2 separate regions of the Homo sapiens genome follow, and region 1 is linked to region 2. Evidence: promoter capture Hi-C in human tissues and cell types (Jung and others, 2019). All regions are on one chromosome and are shown on one strand. Each heading gives the region's core, a stretch centred on a gene start or on the middle of the fragment in contact. The rest is flanking DNA. Distances are from core to core; before and after follow the strand shown. Region 1 overlaps RAB11FIP1 (RAB11 family interacting protein 1). Region 2 holds the start of EIF4EBP1 (eukaryotic translation initiation factor 4E binding protein 1).

Region 1 (5,553 bases), core at 39-2,538, 160 kb after region 2:
TTCCTTTTCCAGAGTTCCTGGCTCTATAAATGATGTCCACTAGTACAAGCTTTTAGAGCTAACAGAATGAGTGTCTTCCAAGTTTTTTTTTTCTTTTTTTTAAGGGTAAAACCATGGAACCTTATGGTAATTCTGATATTTCATTAATTCATCAGGTAGTTATTGAGTTCCTGTGATGTGCTCAACCCTCGTGGGATATAGCCTTATCAGAAGCCAAGGAATCTGCTTCCTTTAGCTCTGAGTTAATTATGTATTTTGAACTTCAATTTCAATGTCTAAATCCCTCCCATTGGCCGGATTCTGCTACTCTACCAAGAGTGCTGCCCTTTTCATTGGTTTAACCCAGAGTTTCTCAACCTCAGCACTGTGGACAGTTTAGACTAGACAGGCCTTTGTCGTGGGGGGCTGTGCTATACGTTGTAAGATGTTCAGTATCATCCTTGTCCTCTACCTGCTGGATACGAATAGCAGCACACCCCCTCCAAGTTGTGGCAACCAGAAATGTATCCAGACGTTGACAGATGCCCCTACACTGCAAACCACCCGTTTAACATCTTATCCCCTTTCTGTTCTTTTTCTTCCCAAAGTCATGTCTCACAAGAGAACAGCGAGTACGGATCTTAAGCAACTGAACCAGGTCAACTTTACCCTTCCCAAGAAGGAAGGACTTTCCTTTCTTGGTGGCCTTCGGTCTAAGAATGATGTCCTTTCCCGCTCTAATGTCTGCATCAATGGGAACCATGTTTACCTGGAGCAGCCAGAAGCCAAGGGTGAGATCAAGGATAGCAGCCCGTCCTCCTCCCCATCCCCCAAGGGCTTCAGAAAGAAGCATTTGTTCTCTTCTACAGAGAACCTGGCGGCTGGGTCTTGGAAGGAGCCTGCTGAAGGAGGTGGGCTGTCTTCTGACAGGCAGCTCTCCGAATCTTCCACCAAGGACTCCTTGAAGTCTATGACCCTGCCGTCCTACCGACCTGCCCCACTGGTCAGTGGGGACCTCAGGGAAAACATGGCCCCCGCAAACTCAGAGGCCACAAAAGAAGCTAAGGAGAGCAAGAAGCCAGAGAGCAGGAGGTCCTCTTTGCTGTCTCTGATGACGGGGAAGAAGGATGTGGCTAAGGGCAGTGAAGGTGAAAACCCTCTCACGGTCCCAGGGAGGGAGAAGGAAGGCATGCTGATGGGGGTTAAGCCGGGGGAGGACGCATCGGGGCCTGCTGAAGACCTTGTGAGAAGATCTGAGAAAGATACTGCAGCTGTTGTCTCCAGACAGGGCAGCTCCCTGAACCTCTTTGAAGATGTGCAGATCACAGAACCAGAAGCTGAGCCAGAGTCCAAGTCTGAACCGAGACCTCCAATTTCCTCTCCGAGGGCTCCCCAGACCAGAGCTGTCAAGCCCCGGTGAGTTTTGGCTCTTCTCGTGCAGGGCATTTCTGCCTTGCCATTGGTGGTTTTCAGGCTTACGTTAGACCAGCTCTTGTGGGTCCCATGATATCATAGTACCCATATATGCCAAAGGTTTGCTGGTCTAAATTATTTTTTTAACCAGTCCCTACTGCCAGCCTGGCCTGCCCTGTATAAATTGCAGTGATGTTTCCCAGCTCAGAGCTACTGCCCAGCAGGCATGGTCTGTCCTTTCAGTCAGCTTATCAGATCTCAGTGGAACGCAGTGGTTTGTAGCAGATTGTGGGTGTTGCAAGTTGGGAATACTGAGTTTGGGTTGTAGTGTATGCAGAACCTGTGTTTTCGAAGTTCTTATCTCACATTTCCCTTTGAGCCAGATGTTATCCTGCCTCCTTGCCTTTTGGCATTGGTTTCTGGTATGAGAGACCCTCGGTCCTCTCTCAAGTGACAGTGACGGTTCTTTGTGTCCACTCTGCCCCTTGTTGTAAGAGCCGGCATAAGCCTTGGGGACTGGCCTTGGGGACTTCTGCTTTTCTGTGTGATCACATTCATACTGACAATATTTCTGCGGTCTGGGGAGTGAGATTTTTTTTTTTAGAGATTCTGCTTACTTTGACATGCACACACACACACACACACATATACACACACATACACACTGTTCCTCTTAAACTTATCTGTGCCTGTTGCTTTGTGTTACATCTTTAACCACTTTAAACCTTTTAGGTGCATTTTGTCCTGTAATAATCAAATGCTCGGGCCTTGTGTTAATCACCACAAGAAACCAGAGGCTATTGCTTTACCGGGATCTTTTCATTTCTATTGCAACAGACTTTTGTGTGACGGATCTGCTTGGTTATAAAAGTGTCTGTTGTGTATGTTAAGTGTTAGTGTTCCTTTTTTTTTTTGAGACAGTCTCCCTCTATCGCCCAGGCTGGAGTGCAGTGGCACGATCTCAACTCACTGCAACCTCCACCTCCCAGGTTCAAGCAGTTCTCCTGCCTCAGCCTCCCGAGTAGCTGGGACTACAGGTGCACACCACCACACCCGGCTAATTTTTGCATTTTTCAGTAGAGATGAGGTTTCACCATGTTGGCTGGGCTGGTCTTGAACTCCTGACTTCAGGTGATCCGCCTGCCTCGGCCTCCCACAGTGCTGGGATTACAGGCGTGAGCCACCGCGCCCGGCTAGCGTTCCTTTTTTAACTTCTTAAGGTACTGCCCCACGTGTAAAGACGTTCTCCCCTGGTGAATGACTTGTTTTTGTGTATTTTCTTTGTCTCTCGTGATGCATCTGCACTGACCTGCAGATTTTATTTTGTCCTTTTTGCAGACTGGAAGTGTCTCCAGAGGCGCAACCCACAGCCAGGCTTCCTTCCCCTACTGACTCCCCTTCCTCTCTTCCTCCTCTTCCTTCTAGCTCTGGCCAGGCATCTGTCCCCTCTGAATTGGGACATGGTGCAGACACACAGTCCTCTGAGAGTCCTTCTGTCTTCTCCTCTCTCTCATCTCCCATAGCAGCTCCCATTTCCACATCCACTCCAATTGAAAGCTGGCCTCTCGTAGACAGGGGCCAGGCCAAGTCTGAAGGACCACCCTTGCTCCCTAAGGCAGAGTTGCAAACTGAGAGTTTAACACCGGTTCCAAATTCTGGTTCTTCTGCCCTGGGATCACTTTTCAAACAGCCATCCTTTCCAGCAAATAAAGGGACAGAAGATTCTCTGATGGGCAGGACCCGTGAGACAGGCACAGAGAAGAACACCAGCAGCCTTGAGTTGGAGGAGTCTCTCCCAGAGCAGCCTGAAACAGGGCGACAAGAGGAAGAACTTCCGAGATTCCCCTGCAAAAAACAAGACTACAGCCCATCATCTGGAGAAGCCCAGGAAGTACCGTTTGCCCTTTCACTCAGCAGTGATGGAGCTGTGAGCCCTGTTGGGGAGCTTGCAGCAGGAGGAGACAGAGACTTGGAGAGTCAGGCTGGGTCTCTTGTGGAGAGCAAAGCCAGGGATGCAGCTGAAGAAGTGGCGCCCCCTCTTCCCATGGGAGCATCAGTCCCTTCCATTGATTCCATGATGCGGAAGCTGGAAGAGATGGGTCTGAACCTCCGCAAGGACCAGAAGAAAACCAAGAAGCGTGTGTCATTTTCTGAGCAGCTCTTCACGGAAGAGGCAGTGGCGGGGGCTGCCTTGCTGGTGGAAGGACACAGCAGTTGTCCCCAGGAGCTGAACCCTGCATGGTCTGTTGCTGGAAACGCGTCTGACGGAGAGCCTCCTGAGTCTCCCCACGCAGAGGACTCAGAAAGGGAATCGGTGACCACACCTGGGCCAGCGACGTGTGGTGCGCCAGCCTCCCCAGCGGATCACCTCCTCCTCCCCTCCCAGGAGGAGAGTTTCTCCGAAGTCCCCATGAGTGAAGCAAGCTCAGCGAAAGACACTCCACTCTTTAGGATGGAGGGAGAGGATGCCCTTGTGACTCAGTATCAGAGCAAAGCCAGTGACCACGAAGGTTTATTGTCTGACCCCTTGAGTGACCTTCAGTTGGTCTCAGATTTTAAATCTCCAATCATGGCCGATCTGAACTTAAGCCTTCCTTCCATTCCTGAAGTCGCATCGGATGATGAAAGAATAGATCAGGTTGAAGATGACGGAGATCAGGTTGAAGATGATGGAGAGACAGCAAAGTCGTCAACTCTGGACATAGGAGCTTTGTCCTTGGGCTTGGTAGTCCCCTGTCCTGAGAGGGGAAAGGGGCCCAGTGGCGAGGCAGATAGGTTGGTACTGGGGGAGGGCCTGTGTGATTTCAGGCTGCAAGCACCCCAGGCATCTGTGACAGCTCCTTCAGAGCAGACCACAGAGTTCGGAATTCACAAACCACATCTTGGCAAGAGCTCAAGCTTGGATAAACAGCTGCCAGGCCCCAGTGGTGGTGAGGAAGAAAAACCGATGGGAAATGGGAGTCCAAGCCCGCCTCCTGGCACATCCCTGGACAATCCTGTACCCAGCCCCTCCCCTTCTGAGATCTTTCCTGTCACACACTCTTTCCCCAGCTCTGCACATTCTGACACTCACCACACCAGCACAGCAGAATCTCAAAAAAAAGCCACAGCAGAGGGCTCCGCTGGTAGAGTTGAAAATTTTGGCAAGAGGAAGCCACTCCTCCAGGCCTGGGTCTCACCCTCGGAGACACATCCAGTCTCAGCTCAGCCAGGCGCTGGAACTGGGTCAGCCAAGCACAGGTGAGAGATGGGGGAGATTGTCTATGTAAATGTGAGCAATGTCCCCCTTTGCTTCCTACCTGCAGAGGTTACGGCTTTCTAACCACACAGACGTCTGATGTGACAACCCACCTGTCACTGTCCTGCTGGTAGGGCTGCCCCTTGTGGTGGTAATACCTCAAGACACTGCTGCGTTTATAGCAAGAACATAATAGTAGTCTGTAAATATAGCTTAGGAATTGTTCTGCACGGTCAGATTTGGAGCTCGCACATTGCAGAAACGCAATGCCACCAGTATCTTAACTGTCTCAGAACTAACTGGCATTGAGTGGTAGTAGTATCTAGCAGTGTCAAAAACTTCTTCAAGCACTCCCCAACGTGAAGCTTGTATGTTTGTTTTGAGCTGTCTTTACTGTGGAGGGACAGAAGCCTCTGCAGAGTTTTACAGTGAATGCCTAGGCTCTAGTTGACTTAAAAAAATAAGAGACTGCCTTTAATGTTCTGATGTTTGTAACAAGACCAAGGGTCCCGTGAAGATATCAGGACATCTGGACAAGGACATGCTTTCCTGGCTTGCATGTGGCAGCCCTGTCCTGACTGCTTTTGTTTCCACAGGAACTGAGACATTGGAGTGCTTTGGCCCAGAGATGAGGGCAGCATGTGACCCACCTGCCCCTTGTCTGGCTTACTGGCTGCCGTCTTTGCAGTGGGCAGTTGCTCAGTTTTGCCATGACCGGAGGGTCTAAAGATCCTTTTCCCCTTCTCTTTAGACTTCATCCTGTGAAGCCAATGAATGCAATGGCCACCAAGGTTGCTAACTGCAGCTTGGGAACTGCCACCATCATCAGTGAGAACTTGAACAATGAGGTCATGATGAAGGTATGTCCTCTGAGAAGCTGGTGTGTTCGTTAGGGATTGACAGAACACCCGTTTCCATAGTCA
Region 2 (5,233 bases), core at 2,145-4,644:
AAAAACACAAAAAATCAGCCGGGCTTGATCGCGGGCGCCTGTAGTCCCAGCTACTTGGGAGGCTGAGGCAAGAGAATGGCGTGAACCCGGGAGGCGGAGCTTGCAGTGAGCCAAGATCTCACCATTGCACTCCAGCTTGGGCGACAAAGCGAAACTCCATCTCAAAAAAAAAAAAAAAAAAAAAGGAAAGCAAACTGGAGTCATAGGAATGGAGATAGTGCAACCCAACTGCTGCTTCTTTCCCTCCAGGGACAATCACTTGAGGGCCATTCCCAGCAGGAGTGACTGGGGGGTACTTACTCCAATGGTTTTTCCTGAGAAGCTGACAGTCCCTATAAGTAAGCAGGTGCAGACAGCCATGCAGACACTCTATCAAAAGCCTGGCTCTCCACACCACGATTTAGAGATCAAAGTTTACCTGGATGGAGCCATCTTTTTTTTTTTTTTGCTAGACTCCAGAGATCTGAAAGGTGAGGGAAGTTATGTTTCACTAATTCCTGAGTACTCAGAGTGTGGTATGTGCACCAATCAGTCAGAGCTAGTTAGAAATGCTGAATCTAGGCCGGGCATGGTGACTCACGCCTGTAATCCCAGCATTCTGGAAGGCCGAGGCAGGCAGATCACTTGAGGCCAGGAGTTTGAGACCAGCCTGGTCAACATGGTGAAACCCCCGTCTCTACCAAAAAATACAAAAATCAGCTGGGCATGGGTGGTGCATGCCTGTTGTCCCAGTTATTGGGGAGGCTGGGGTGGGAGGATTGCTTGAACCCAGGAGGTGGAGGTTGCTGTGAGCTGAGATTGCGCCACTGCACTCCAGCCTGGGTGATAGAGTGAGACCCTGTCTCAAAAAAAAAAAAAAAAAAAAGAAAGAAAGAAAAGAAAGAAATGCTGAATCTAGTTCCCACCCCCACCTACAGAATCAGAATATGCACTTAAATGAAGCCCCCAGTTATCCTCAAGCACCTGGAAGACTGAGAGGCAGTATTCTGCTCTGGAGCAAAAGGGTGTGACCATTTTGGCTGCAATGTGACCATTTTGGCTTCTCTGCCCTGGCAGAGGTGGGCTGAGGTGGGCTTTGGAGGAAGAGTCCACACCTTGGCTAATCGAGGCCGACCAGGCTTGCTTGACTTTAGTGGAAGTCAGCCAGGTTTCCCTGGCTTAGGGACTGTGAGCTGTACCTGCTCCACTGGACGACCAAACAGTGAGCTGGCTTTAGGCTCCTGGCACTGCTAGCTTCTTCCAGTGATCTCAGAAACATATGCTATGCCCTGATGCAGAAGTCCCTTCCCCACTCCCCCTACTGCTAAAGACCTTCAAAGGGAAGGGGATTTGCTGTGGTCTGTCAGCCCCCTGCCCACTCCCCACTTCCCAACCCAAAGTGAAAAGTGGATTTGAAGTTCCTATATTTTATATTTATTATTTATTTTAGAGATAGGGTCTCGCTCTGTCACCCAGGCTGGAGTGCAGTGGTCAATCATAGCTCACTACAGCCTCCAACTCCTGGGCTCAAGCGATCCTCTGGCCTCAGCCTCTGTAGTAGCTAGGACAACATTTTGTTGTTGTTTTGTTTGTTTCTTTGTAGAGATGGAGTCTCACTATGTTGCCCAGGCTGGTCTTGAACTCCTGGCCTCAAGCAATTCTCCTGCCTTGGCTCCCCAAAATGCTGGCATTACAGGTGTGAACCTTGGTACCCGGGCCAGAAGTGCCTATAAACAGTATCCTGGCTTCCAATTTGACCCAACAATCCAGCAATAAAGAGTGCAAAAAAGGGCTACCTGCGCCTTCAGGCCGGCCTCAGGGCCCACCCTGAACAAATCCAGCAGACACTTACACCCTCATTTGAAAGAACTCCAAAATTGTCAGGAATTGTCCTGGTAGACCATTGTGACAGAGACAAAGGAGAACAGCATGGACTACAAAAGACCCAGCAAGGGAAAGAGGATGAGTCGGGAATGGCAACAAGAGCCCCTGCGAGCTTTTCCTTGGCTCATTTCTAATAGAAAAGGAAGCATTTCTCCCTTCTCTGCCTGGTTGCTATTTCTTGTCCAATCTGGGAAAACGGTGTGACAATGGGCAACAGACACGTGTTCAAGCTCTGGGGCCTCAATGCCGGGCTCTGTAGAATAAGACGGCAGGGCTGGACAAGATCCCTAACCGTTCTAACAGTGTATGTTTTGGATCAAACAGCAGAGGACCTCGGATCTGGCCGCGCTCGCTGCTGGTGGGACAGCTGCCTGAGAAAATAAGCATGTGGCCCCCGCCCGCCACCTAGCCAAGCGCCAGGATCTGTCGCGTTTTCTAGTAGTATGGAAAGCAGCGTGGAGGAGAATGAAGGGAGAGGAGCAAAAAGGGGTGGGGGCAGTGCGACAATGAGAGGGGAGGAGAGAGCCACGAGGATTTATTTCATCATGCAAACAGGCGCGTAGGTTTCATCAGCGTCTGTGCGCTGGGGCTCCGGGGCTGGGAGGGAATGCCAGGTTCCTGAGGGCAGCCCGAGGCTGGCCCCCCCACCCGTGCCAGCTCAGCTTCCTCTTCCTCATCCTCTCCCAGGGAGGTCACACGGTGCCTCCTCCTCTCCCCGGACAGAAGAACGTGTTTTTCTGCACAGCCCTGGCCGTGGCGCCAGGGTCCCCCCCGCGGAGATCCCACTCGCGTAAATGGGGAACGTGCCACAGGTGCCCGGGAGGCGCTGCTGGAGCAGGCAAGCACCCCCAGATCCGAACCTCAGTCAGAGCGCGCGAGTCCAACACAAAACTCGGCGTGCTTCGGGAAGGAAAAAGGGCCCTGCAGGAATCGTTTATCCCAACAGATAATACCCATCCCATAAAAACACCAGGCCAGGCCTCTCCTGGATCGTGGGCCACCCTAACTCCGCCCTCTCCCGCTTCGGGAGCGCCCCCAACACCCACAAGGGGCAGCACAGCTCGGCATGTGGCTGTCCTGGAGGCGTGCGTGTTTGTTAGGTGTCAGCTGTCTGACACCTAACAGAAAGAGGAAACAAACGGGGCAGTTTGTAACTCGGGTCTGGAAGACGCACTCAGAGGGGAAGCGGGCGGCCACTTCCATGACCCTCGCTGTCTCTCCGATGCCCCTTTTCCGTTCTTTCCAATCACGGCGCCCTTGAGCCTGGACACCCGGTCCAATCCGCGATTCCCGATCCTCCCGCCCGCCCAGGAGCCGGCAAGCGGCGTCGCCAAGCCCGCGCCTACCTCCCGGGGTGGTGCTGAAGAGCGTGCCGCCGGGGGTCGTGCTGTAGTCCCCGGGCGGGAGCTGCACGCCGTCGCCGAGCACCACCCGGCGAGTGGCGGGGATGGCCCGGCTTGGGGTCTGGCTGCAGCTGCTGCCCCCGGACATGGTCTCCTGTGCGCTGCACCCGCGAACCTCTCGCTGCCCTCCCGCGCCTCCAGCCTCGCTCCGCCTCGCCCCGTGCCGCCCCGCCCCAGGACGCCCCTTCCGCCTCTCCCGCCCCACGCCCCTGGGATTTGTAGTCCGCGCCGCAGCCCCACCCAGCTCCAGGACGCTGCTTCCACGTGGGATCCCCCGCCGCCCCCCGACCCACTCCCGTCTGCTCACGGGCTCTTCCGCACGGGCGCTGGCGCCGCCCCGCAGCGACTGCCCCTCCGTCCGGGGTCCCTCCCCGCCACGCTGGCAGGGACGGATATGGGGATGGCGGGCGGGATAGCTCGCCTAAATTAATCCTTGGCTGGGTTGGGGGCGGCGACTCAGGACCGCGCGGAGATCCGAGCTGACCCGGCCCACTGCAGGAAGGCCCGGTTTCTGCATTAGGACATCAGGCCTGGTGTACCCTTCGGCACTCCCTGTTTCGTGCCTTAGTTCCTCAGATGAGAAAATGGGGATTGAGTAGTTATGCTCACCGCCCCCCGCCCCGCTTCAATTTCTTGACCTTGATGGGGGTGGGGGTGGAGGGGCTAACAATTCCGTTCCCGGCCTTTAGAGAGGGTGTGGGAGGAGGAGTGAACCAACCAGCGGCGTCCTGGGAGCTAAATTTAGAGCTGGGGGCGCAGAGGTGGGTGGTGGGGAAGGGCGTTGGAGAGGAGTAAGAGTGTCGAAGAGGTTTCCCGATAGCCCCTGAATTGAGTCCAACGTCCACCTGAGGTTTAGTAGGTACTCCTTGGATGGATGGATGGATGGATGGATGGATGGATGGATGGATGGATGTTCAAGGGGAGAGAGAAAAATGCAAGAAGGACCGAGGATGGAAAAGCTTGTTGGGTTTGAGAAGTTCTTAGCATTATGGGCACATATTGTGGGGAAGAGGGTGAAGAGGGGAGGGCAGTTTAAAAGGGAAATTGGGTGGTGCACCTGTAATCCCAGCTACTCAGGAAGCTGAGGCTGGAGGATGCTTGAGCCCAGGGGTTTGAGGCTCCAGTGAGCTGTGATCACACCACTGCACTCCACCCTTTGTGACAGAGACCCTATCTCTAAAAAAATATATAATAATTTTTTAAAAAGGAAATTGGGGTCAGGTCGTTGAGTTTTTCAAATTATGCCAAAGTGCTTGGACTTTGTCTTAGAAGGGCAGGAGATATCAGAGATCTTTTAAGCAGGGGGATGACATGATTTGAGTTGTTTTTTGGAAGGATAACTAGTAGCCAGTGGAGTTTCAGAATGGGCCAAGGAGGGCAAGGCCTGAGATAGGGAGACCTGTTGAGTTTGGTCTCACTTTTGAGGGAAACTTTAGGCCTACAGTGGCTAAGACAGTAGCCACCAGCTACAGGTGCACATTGAGCACTCCAAATGTGACCAGTCCAAACTGTCACAAGTTTAACATACACACCATATTTCAAAGACTTAGTGTGAAGAAAATCATGTAAAATACCTGAATAATTTGTTTCTATATTGATTGTATGTTGAACTGATAATATTTTGAGTATACTGGGTTAAGAAAAATACATTATAAAAATTAATTTTGGGCCAGGCGCAGTGGCTCACGCCTGTAATCCCAACACGTTGGGAGGCCGAGGCAGGCGGATCATGAGGTCAAGAGATCGAGACCATCCTGGACAACATGGTGAAACCCTGTCTCTACTAAAAATATAAAAAAAATTAGCTGGGCATGGTGGCGCATGCCTGTAGTCCCAGCTACTCGGGAGGCTGAGGCAGGAGAATTGCTTGAACCTGGGAGGCAGAGGTTGCAGTGAGCTGAAATCATGCCACTGCACTCCAGCCTGGCGTCAGAGCAAGACTCTGTCTCAAAAGAAAAAAAAATAAA

The links. Contacts are between HindIII fragments. The study calls those that stand out against the background at their distance.
Region 1: a fragment that was not itself captured here is called in contact with the fragment with the promoter of EIF4EBP1 in region 2 in 2 of the 25 tissues and cell types used here (IMR-90 fibroblasts and mesenchymal stem cells).

What each region holds. Positions count from the first base shown.
Region 1 is chr8:37,870,357-37,875,909 of GRCh38, reverse strand. RAB11FIP1 (RAB11 family interacting protein 1) reads left to right here. Exons shown (of 6, transcript NM_001002814.3): 3 at 588-1,395; 4 at 2,731-4,632; 5 at 5,382-5,490. Among named protein-coding and RNA genes, the nearest start is that of BRF2, 23 kb to the right of the region's middle. The HindIII fragment of the contact is 6,711 bases long and covers 1-4,643 here.
Region 2 is chr8:38,028,695-38,033,927 of GRCh38, reverse strand. It overlaps EIF4EBP1 (eukaryotic translation initiation factor 4E binding protein 1), which reads right to left and starts at 3,394. Exons shown (of 3, transcript NM_004095.4): 1 at 3,210-3,394. The coding sequence starts at 3,354. RefSeq lists enhancers at 2,574-2,673, 3,303-3,597 and a silencer at 3,174-3,613. The HindIII fragment of the contact is 9,944 bases long and covers 1-5,233 here.